2 separate regions of the Homo sapiens genome follow, and region 1 is linked to region 2. Evidence: promoter capture Hi-C in human tissues and cell types (Jung and others, 2019). All regions are on one chromosome and are shown on one strand. The core of a region is centred on a gene start or on the middle of the fragment in contact, and the rest is flanking DNA. Distances in the headings are between cores, read along the strand shown. Region 1 overlaps BBX (BBX high mobility group box domain containing). Region 2 holds the start of IFT57 (intraflagellar transport 57).

Region 1 (5,249 bases), core at 1,001-3,500, 420 kb after region 2:
AAGGCCACTAGTACCTAGCTGGTATAGCACTCCAAGATTTTGCGGCCGGGGGGTCTCAGTATCACTCTTCGGCCACACCCCTTACCTTGGGCTCCTCCGGTCATTCTACTGCCAAAGAGGCTACCAGGAACAGCAAACAGACAACAGGCCATGATTGAAAATGGAGAAATTCACCAGTTGGTGAATTAAATCAGATAACTCAAGAAATCCAGAAGCATTCTCAGGCTCCCTGCATGGTCTAAACCAGTTATATAGGAAGTGAATGTTGGATGCATTTTAAGCTTAATCTACTGGTTTGAATGCCTGGTAATCTGGCTTGTAGTGACCCGAACAGCAGACCATGGTCAAATACTGATTCATCTAGTATCTTTAAAAGTATAGGATCTCCTGGAATTAAGATTGCTTTTGTGCACATTGAGAAAGATAAAGGGAAGATGACAGTCCTAAAAACTACCTTTCTTTTCTAGGAATTCAGATATGCTCTTGGAAAACTAGCTATGATTTTAAACATGGAATAAAACATGTTTGGAGGTCTGTAGAAAGCTGCAGAATAGACTCATTTTTCAGTAGGAACCACAGTTGCTTACAGTCATTTGCTGACATGGTGGTCATCTGCTTGCTCTGGTTATCTCTGTCTAAAGCAAGCTTGTCCAACCCATGGCCTGCAGGCTGCATGTGGCTGGGGACAGCTTTGAATGCAGCCCAACACAAATTCGTAAACTTTCTTAAAACATTCTGAGATTTTTTTGTGTTTGTTGTTGTTGTTTTTTTTTTTGAGACAGAGTCTCACTCTGTCGCCCAGGCTGGAGTGCAGTGGCGCGATCTCGGCTCACTGCAACCTCCGACTCTCGGGTTCACGCCATTCTCCTGCCTCAGCCTCCCAAGCAGCTGGGACTACAGGCACCCACCACCAGGCCCGGCTAATTTTTTGTATTTTTAGTAGAGATGGGGTTTCACAGTGTTAGCCAGGATGGTCTCGATCTCCTGACCTCATGATCCACCCACCTCAGCCTCCTAAAGCGTTGGGATTACAGACGTGAGCCACCGCGCCTGGCCTGGTTTTTTTTGTTTTTGTTTTTTTTTTTTTTTAGCTCATTGGCTATTGTTAGTGTATTTCATTGTGGCTCAAGACAATTCTTCTTCCAGTGTGGCCCAGGGAAGCTAAAAGATTGGACACCTCTGGTCTAAAGCTCTCTCTTCTTACCCAAAGTACCTCCTGCTGGTGATACCCGGCCATCTGCTGTCCTGACAAGGTGTGTAATCTTGGTTTTCCTTGCTTTTCTCTTTTGGCTGCCCACCAAAGGTTCTTGCGTTGTTGTTGGCTCTGGAGTGTTGAAAATGGATGGGATATTTTTAACCTTATGAACAGGCTCCATGGTGTTTCTGTCTTCTGAAAATATGGCTGAAATAGGAAATACCATGCATAGTTATGCACAAAAACAGAAGGCACCAAAATTGCTCTTAGAAGGAAACATGTCTAAATTTCTGACCCGTCTGAATGGAGAATTTACACTCAGAGTTTTCAAAGTACTGATGGAAAAAATGAAATAAAACGTTGCCCCTAACTTGTTTACTACCAATTGATATTTGCTTTGATAAATTAAATGCAGTGAATTAAGACACCCCCTCTTTTTTACATTTTCTAAGTCTCTGGGTGTTGCACGTTGGTGGGGACGATAATTTAGGTAAATCTGAGTAAATTATGTCCTCTTGTAAATTATGTCCTAGTTGTGATCAGGGTCCCTATCTGAGAGATCCTTTTGGCCAGTTGGCCTAGAGAGGATGGTAAAAGAAATTTCTTCAGAGGACACTAAAATTAAATATGTCCTTCTTAAATTTATATTTATGGTTGGGACATTTGCTTTTAAGCACCAGGTTGAATTGATCAGAAAAGAAATTGAGGCCTGACTTTCTTTCATGTAGATTGACTGTGCAGTAAGGACAGGACAAACATTGTTGAAGCCAGCACGCCAAGGAAAGAAACTCTCTTTCATTCACTGAATTCTAAAACAAGGAATACACTTAGTGAGATAATTTAATGAAGTCCCACATGTCATCCTGGCTTGTGGAGAGGCTAGTTTTAGGTATCCTAATTGTAACCCCAATGAATCATTTGATAGCACACTCCTATATTCTGAGTCACTCTGTCAAGAGCAAGGAAGACACCTGTACCACAGACTTTTCTCCTGGTTTACACAGATTGGGGAAGCTTGTGTCTTTTCTTACATACTCATTTTCTTAGCAGTTTACCCCCTCCTGACCTTAACTTAAAAGTAAGACAAGATGTGTAGATATGAGTTTAGTAAGTGTTTAGGGGTATACCATAGTTGAGTTTTATGATTGGGACTTTAAAGAAATTCCAGTGACCCAAGGGCTTTTAAGCCGGGAAAAGATGCACTTTCATAATTTTTAACTATCCAATTTCTTAGGATAGACATAGAAATTATTTTTGACAAAGAAAAGGAGAATGTGGGTCAGAAAACTAATGTCAGACATAACAAGCCCTAAGCAAACTAAATCCAGAGGAGGCATATCTGAAGGTAGATATTGGCAATAAAGCTATATATATATATATATATATATATATTTGGAAGAAAAGCTAAACTAAGAGGAAAAAAAAACTAGAGCAAGAATAACTCAGGGTGTGAAAAAATGAACTTGTTGGTATAAACACTTGCACAGCCCTCATTTAAAATGTTTAATCTAGGTGTTTAATGGATTTAGGTACATCCTCAAGAAAGAAGGCTATGAATTAATAAGATTATTTGTCCTGGAAATCATGGCACCTTGTCTTTAAAAGATGTTTCAAAAGAAAGGCTGATTCCAGGCTTCACATTCCTAAACAAGTGGGAAATAATTTCAATTACATCAAAAGAAAGTATGTAAAGCAGAAATCACACCATCATTTGTGGTTTGGCCTTACCTCAATATTGCATAACAGATGGCTGTGTGCAGACAGGCTTAAGATAACAGTTGTTTTAAAAAACTACTTGGCAATGCTCCCAAACACCTTTTCAAGTAAGTAATCAAAGGTCAGAAAACATACTCCTTTTAGATTGCAGATCTATTCCCAGGTCAAATAGATCTACCTCAATGGTGGATTAATTTACTCAGTTATTATACTTAGTCTTAGAATATTTATACTTTGATATTTAGCTTAACATAGGCCAGTGGTGGTACATATTTTAAGTTTTTTTTTTTTAGTTTAAACTTCAATAAAAGCTTCCAGCAAAATAAAAAATAATTCGGTAAGAAACACTCCAAAGAAGATGCATGATTCTATTTTAGCCTTAAAATTCAAAGCCTCCTTTAAGTATAAAGAAGCCCAAAATCTGAATTTACAATGAGCATTAAATAACATCTATTGCACATTCATAAGCTTCGAGATTTCGAATTTCTTATCCAGATCCATCAGCTGTCCCTTCTGATTACAGGAGTCTTGTTTACCTCTCCAATAGAATCACCACATTGTGGATGGACATTCCAGAAAGAACATTAACCTCTTCCCTTTTCTACTTCCCCTTCCCAGGAAAGTACAGAACATGTAGAAATAAGGGTATATAGTGGGGTTCCAAAGATGGAAAGGTGTATCATATCTTACATTAGAACTGACTGCGGAAAGAAGAACCAAGGAGGTCAATGAAAAGGCATGGATACCAGAAAAAGGCCAAGTCGGTTGGGAAAGATGACTTGCTTTTTACACAGAGACCATGGGGTAATGGAAGTAACAGTCACAGAGAGACCAGAATTCTACTACTGACTTTTAAATTTACTAACAGCAGTCCAACCAACCATGGGCCTCTGTTTCTTCATTCAGAGATGGAGGTTGGACTGTATTAGCTTTAAAGGAGCCATCTAGCCCTAAAATAACTTTGCTACATAGGCTACCATCAGAGATCTGGCCAGGGGCAACAACAACAACAAACCACCAGTCAGCTCCAGAGTCATAGGCTGGGAAACAGTACTCCTGTGACTAGCACTGTTTTTGTTTGTTTGGTGAGCCTTCAAATGGTTTCATTTCTACTTAATAGTTGTTCCTTTTCTAGTTTGTTCCAGATGAATTGGTAAAAACACAGTAAGAAGCGTAAGGCACAGCTGCAAAAGGGTTGATTGCAAATGGAGGTACAGTTTCTGCCTAAAACCAGACTGTGACTATGGAAAGCTCAGAAACCAGCAGGCAAAGAGCCTGAGGGCCCAAAGCAGGCCAGCAATACCCAAGTCCCAAGGGTCAGTATATTGGAGGAAAGTAAAGGAGTGAATCAGACTGCAGACCAAGTGGAAGAGGCAAAAAAAAAAAAAAAAAAAAAAAAAGACTACGTCGGAGGTTCTCATAAGTTCCCCAAAAGAAGGTAATGCCAATTAACCAGAGGTCTCCTCTAAACCTACTATTACATCAAAATGCAATGATGGGCCCTGCAGATGATGCACATTTGCAAAAGGTATGTAATGTGACCTTCCTAGAGTTTGAAAGAGGATAAGGGTCCAGACTAATGTTCTGACCCAAGGGTTAACCCCAGAACGTATGGTCTTGTTTGGTGGTTTAGACTGAGGACAGCCTTCAGGATCAGCCCTCAGGGAGACCCTTCCCCTAAGACAGAAGAATTAGGGAAGGCAGATGGGACTGTATCCGAGAAGTAATTTTCTGGAACAAAACAGTAGATCTGAGTCCAACGACATTGGCAAAGCAGACAAAAGCTTGGTGGTGAGGGACATGAGATGAAAAAAGTTCAGAGAGGGAAACAAGCACAAAAGTTGAGTACAAAGATAGCAAGCTAGTTCCTCCCGACAACCCGCAACCTAATGGAAATGTAAGAAAAGAAAGGCTTTGTGGCTCCAAAACAAATTAGTCATTTCTTTTCCAGCTTTTAATTGAGCACACAAAACTACCCGAACACTTCAGAACAAATCCACTGGGCTAGTTTTTACACCCAAACAATAACCATAACACACTTGGTGCGTATCATCTGAGAGTGATGATGCAAGCTCACTCCTGGAGCCACATCAGGAATGTAGCAATAAGAGACCGTCTTGTTTTCCAAAATCTGATCCCAAAATGTGGAGTAGGTTTTTTGGGAAAGCAGCATTGCTCTTGTATTGTACCCCATGAGGCCACTAGAGTGCTCCAGAGTCATGAATTCACATTCCAACTGGGGTTTCAAACTTGCACTGAAATTATTATAGCCAGATCTGGAATCTAATTGCCTTTGGTAGGTCTCCCATGAGCTGAAACAGCAGTCAGATGCTGAATA
Region 2 (5,550 bases), core at 2,914-5,413:
AGTAAAGTTTAACAATCTCTCTATAAAGATAATGATAGGTTTGTTCCTGGGTGCTGTGTGTTGCTTATTATGAGGTTTGTTTTTCTAACTATCATCTCCAGTAACTTTTGGGGTTTTAAGTGCTTTTAATTCAAAATAGTCAATAGAATACTATGCATCCAATAACTCTTTTTAGTTTGGACCTCATATATGGCAAACTTGCTGAGCTATCTTAATAGCATGTCTGTAGATTCTCTTGGATATTTTAATTAATCACAGCAACTGCAATAGTTACTCCTATCTTTTTGTCTGAGTGCACTGGTTCTGGTCTATAGGGCAGTTTTGAAGAGGTAATGTAAATTGCTTTACGAGGCACCGCTTTTAAAGATTTACATATAAATATGATTTTTTTCCTTCTAGATTTTTGGCAGACACTTTTGATGAGGTTGAATGGGGCTTAGAACATGCCACCCCAAAATATGCTGCTGTTGCATACTGATTATTGTGATATGAAGGCACCTGCGATACAGCAGATATATGAAGGGCTCTCTGACCTTCCCCTTCCTACTTAAAAGCAAGTCATAAAATTTCCCATGAGAAAGAAGCCATCCCTGTACCAGGAAATAACATTTTTATGATGGGAGCCTGGAAATTAATGCTAAAATGGGTCTGCAGAAACAAACCTATTAAAATAATCTTTATCTTCCACTAATTTTACCCATATTTTTCCTAGTCACTTGTCTACAGTTTGTCAACCTTAAATCCCTTTTCCTTTGTCTTGTCACTTCCCTACAAATGTATCATTCTTTGTTTTCTTTAAAAAAAAAAAAGGCATATAAGCTGTTGGTCCTATCCGCTTCATTTTTCTTTTGAATGCTCCCATGTGCATGTAAAAATATTAAATAAAATTTGTGTGCTTTTTTCCTGTTTACTTGTCTTATGTTCATTTAATTCACAGGCCCAGCTATTGAACCAAAGAGGGCAGAAAAAGTTTTTCCTTCTCTATAGTTTCAAGGAAGATTTATTCAGTTAGCGATTTTCTAAGTTTTTAACAACCCAAATGGGTGGTACTAAGCCATTTATAACACAGCACAGCTTTGTTCTTTAAGCCTACCCAGTTTGCCTGAAGGATTTGCTCTTCTATTTGAAGGTGCAGCTGGAAAGCCTTCCTCCATTCTAGAATCTGCCTCCTTTTCACCCCCAGCCTTGCTAAGCACCTTTCAGGGAAATCCATTGAGCTTAAATTGGCTTTGACTGGGATACTTTTTTTTTTTTGAGACAAAGTCTCATTCTGTTGCCCAGGCTGGAGTGCAGTGGCACCATCTCTGCTCACTGCAACCTCTGCCTCCTGGGTTCAAGCAATTCTCCTGCCTCAGTCTCCTGAGTAGCTGGGATTACAGGCGCCCATCACCACGCCTGGCTAATTTTTGTATTTTTAGTAGAGACGGGGGTTTCACCATGTTGGCCAGGCTGGTTTCGAACTCCTGACCTCAAATGATCCGCCTGCCTCAGCCTCCCAAAGTGCTGGGATTACAGGCATGAGCTACCGTGCCCGGCCTGGAATGCTATTTAGTTTTCAGAGTTTCACAGAAAGATCCACGAGTTTTAAAAAGCTGAGGCAGGGGAACCGCTTAAATCCAGGAGGCGGAGGTTGCAGTGAGCCAATATCGTGCCATTACACTCCAGCCTGGTGACAGGGCAAGACTCCGTCTCAAAAAAAAAAAAAAAAAAAGTTACTTTCAATTACCTCACAGATAGTTTGAAAGAAATAAAAGTCAAAGTCAGAAGGCCAGCTATTAATAGTGGCGAATACAGTAAAACCAGGGATGAAATTGAGATTTTACAGGAAGAATGAACATGGCTCATTCTCTTCAAGCTCTAACTCCTTAGTCAACAAATAAACTAGTCCTGCAAACCAAAACAACAAAAAAAAACCTGATACAACTGTATTCCCCAAAGTTTCCAAGTGGCTGAAACAGCTAGAAGAGGATTTGAGTGCATTTTCACACACACGAAGAAAACTATCAAGGAAAAGATCTTTTGATGTGTTACAAACTATTACAGGTAAACAAGGAATCAGCAAAAATAATCCCTGGGCTTTACAAAACAATGAAATTTCAGTGTTCTTTCTAAAACTTTTTATTGGGGAAACATGCAGTATTGAACAGTTAGCTTTTTTGTTCTCTTTGTGCCACAATTACTGGAAATACTTTATATTTTTGGGTTTTTTTCTTCTTCACAATTAAGGGGGGAAATTATTCTGTATACTGCTTTCAGGCCAGGCTGTGTCAGTATTTTACCTGGGAAGGAAATGGCTAAGACCCTGGGAGTCGTTTTGTTTCCCCCAAGTTAAAATACATACGTTGCTGGAGGATTTATCAGCTAAAAAGCAACGTTTGACTATTTCATACTGTGTTACGTAACTTCCTGAAAATGTCAGAACATCTTAAGTAGGCAGCATGCCTGGCAGGAACATCTCCCTCCCTGAGTGTAATAAATTTACTTCCAAAGTCTGAGAGCTTTTTCAGAGTCATGTAAAAAGCCCCAGTTTGCTTGTTAGTTAACTTAGGACCCCAAAACATATCTAAGCTTTCATTTTTCAGTCTTATAAAGCCATACATCTATCTTACACTACTGTGACTGTTATACATACATATAACACCCCCAAGCTGCACATGTGGTGGTGGTTGGGGTATGGACTTATCGGGGAGAATCACTGTTTCAAAAAGGCAAAGACCAGGAAAGATCAATTTGGTAGTGGGGTAACATCAAATCCAATTTTCTCACTCAACTTTATTAAAAGCAGCTGGCTCATGACTTGTGGTAGGCAAGCAATGTTATTTATTTAAAAAGCAATTCTCAGTGGGCTGCCCTTCAGGTTATTCTCTACATAAGTCTGTAATTTTATGTACTTCCTTTCTTTAATGAAAAAATGGTATTTGCCCTTCTGACTTTTCACTTTGATAACCTTATTAGTATCAGAAACAAGTTAGCTGTAGACGGATTACAATGAAAAGTGTTCTCATTTTTTCTAATAAAAACAGGATATTGTAGATACATTTCAAATTTCAGTTGTCCAAAAATGTAGCCCTTCTATATTTTGTAGTGGCAGATACAAGAGATCAGAGAGCCCTTAAAAGTCACGTTATAAACATGAACATATGTTCAATCTCTTGTACTAAGTTTTCTTCCCAAAAACTGCCAGGCATCCACCACTTACCTCATTTTTTGCAACTGTTAAGAAAATTGCCTAATACAGAAGCCTTTTGAAAACTGTAAAGCTGGGCCATTTCTGTGGTCAGTTATGTACCTTTTCTTAAATTTTCTAGGTCAATAACTGCAGAATACAGTAGTAACACCCTATCTTTAGCCACCCTTAGAGCTTTAGGGCAGGGAAATTCCTTTTAAGACCATCTCTATTCTGTTGGATTTAACGAAGTACCCAAACACTTTATACTACATGTAATGGGTTTGAAACAGATTAAGCAGCAGGATGGAAGCTTAGTATTCTTGTTTTTGAAGTAAAACAAATCCTTCCAAATGCCTCCTTTTGTTCATTGTCTTCCTCATCCTTCCAACCACTTTCCTAGCACTGGAGTAACAGCCAGGCAACGTAATACAGTACTTCAAGCTTTACAATATACTGTTAAGTGCAGCATTGCCTAGTGAGAGAAAGATAAAATTAAAGAAAGAACGAGAGAAACCTCTCGTTGGAAAGTTCCTGCAGTAAAAGTGAAACCTATGGTATTGACTATCTTTACAACTATGAAAAACTTTTCAATTCTGAGAAAATAAAGGTATCAGTGAGCCAGTGCAGCCTTCAGTGCTACACGTCTTCACCTCCCTTTAATCTTTTTAACAGCTACTAGCTGACCCAGATGCCCGCTTAATTGCTTTTAGCAACCACCAGGTCCAACACACCTCAAGCCAGCTCAAGACTCACTAGGCAAGCGGAGCAGAAACGTAAGCCGGCTCCCTTCAGACTTTCAGCGAGGGAGAAGACGCAGCCGGCAGTGGGGCGCGAACGCCACGCCTCCATGAGGGGCGGGGCTGCTTCCCGACCACCATTTCCACAGAGGCAGGGCAAGAAGAGGGCCACAGGTGACGTCATTCAGGAAAGCCGCCCTGATTGGAGGGAAGGAGGCGGAGTCTAGTTTCCCTGGTGACGGATTGTCCGGTGGTCGCCTGGTAACCGGTCGTGGCTGTACTGGCGGCGGCAGGGCTGGCGGCTTAGGCCGCAGAGGTCTGTGGGCCTGAGCCCACGCTGGACTCTGTCCGTTCTGCGATGACTGCTGCTCTGGCCGTCGTCACGACGTCGGGTTTGGAAGATGGGGTGCCTAGGTCCCGTGGCGAAGGGACCGGGGAAGTGGTCTTGGAGCGGGGGCCCGGCGCGGCCTACCACATGTTCGTGGTGATGGAGGACTTGGTGGAGAAGCTGAAGCTGCTCCGCTACGAGGAGGAGTTCCTCCGGAAGAGCAACCTGAAGGCCCCGTCCAGGTGGGTGCCGGCGTCCCCGAGCGCCCGGGTGCCTGCTAGCCCCCAGGGAGATGCCCTCCTTGGTCCTGCTGGGAACCAGTTTCGTGAGAGCGGGTTAGCAATTCCTTGCCTCCGTCTTCCTAGCCAGGGAAGGGCACTTCACCCCAAACTCCCGGGAGGTCCGTGGAGCTCACGCAGCCCTGACTTGGTATTTTTGTAGAGAGAATAAATAAGTTTTGGAACGGCAGAAAGGATCGGAAGACAGCTTGCCTGTTTTTTTCCAACACACACGCATTACCAGAAAACACAAACTATATTTTCTGATTGTAAAGATGAAACAAATACTCATTGAAGAAAACTCAGAAAAACACAAGTAAATGTCTAGAAAAATTATAAGACCGTCCAAAATTCGCCTCCAGAGAGGAATGCCATTATCACTTAAGGCTTTTTTTCTAGTTTGGGGTTTTTTGTTGTTGTTTAAGACCCTGTTCATACAACTGGGGACCGTGGGTACTTAGGATCCTGTTAAGGAGCACTTTAAATGCGGTTAGTAAACTTGTTAACTACTTGCTATGGTTTAAAAGACTTCTGCCTTTGTAATAACCATACTCTCAGAAACTGAAAAGTGGAAAAGACGAATGACAACTATTGAATTGTCCCCCTATCATAGAACCTAAAGTTTTACCCTTGTTCCGGTGGGGGAAAAGTCCAACATATCCTGAAAGCAATGCCATTACTTGCTGAGGGTAGTGGTCAGCTAGGACCTTCTCCTCAAATCACTGTAGCTTAGCAGTAGCCAGATAAATCAGTTTTATAGCTTTTCTTTCACTTTAATACTTACATTTGTATATTTTATTCCATAAAAGGCAATCAGTATTAAGAATCTATAGTACTTAATGTCTACAGCCAGGCTCAAATAATTTCCCTTGATAGTTTTAATCTCATTCCACTGCTGTCTTCCAATAACTTGAATTGAAAGATATGTAGGCTTGATATAAACTGTTCATATTAAATTAGTCCATGGTCGGAGAAAAGATAAAGGAAAAAGTAGTGTTGCTTGATCCATGTTAGAAAAGGTAGTCCTGGGATTATTAC

What was found. The method cuts DNA at HindIII sites, captures the fragments that hold promoters and counts their contacts. A contact is called where the count stands out against the background at its distance.
Region 1: a contact is called between a fragment that was not itself captured here and the fragment with the promoter of IFT57 in region 2, in 2 of the 25 tissues and cell types used here (dorsolateral prefrontal cortex and hippocampus).

Annotation. Positions count from the first base shown.
Region 1 is chr3:107,794,676-107,799,924 of GRCh38, reverse strand. BBX (BBX high mobility group box domain containing) reads right to left here. Exons shown (of 18, transcript NM_001142568.3): 16 at 1,205-1,402. Among named protein-coding and RNA genes, the nearest start is that of LINC00635, 81 kb to the left of the region's middle. The HindIII fragment of the contact is 3,574 bases long and covers 464-4,037 here.
Region 2 is chr3:108,221,037-108,226,586 of GRCh38, reverse strand. IFT57 (intraflagellar transport 57) reads left to right here and starts at 4,163. Exons shown (of 11, transcript NM_018010.4): 1 at 4,163-4,476. The coding sequence starts at 4,265. It overlaps LOC124909405 (a long non-coding RNA gene), which reads right to left and starts at 3,982. Exons shown (of 2, transcript XR_007095999.1): 1 at 3,901-3,982; 2 at 2,103-3,641. RefSeq lists a silencer at 3,956-4,249 and an enhancer at 4,185-4,444. The HindIII fragment of the contact is 10,407 bases long and covers 3,025-5,550 here.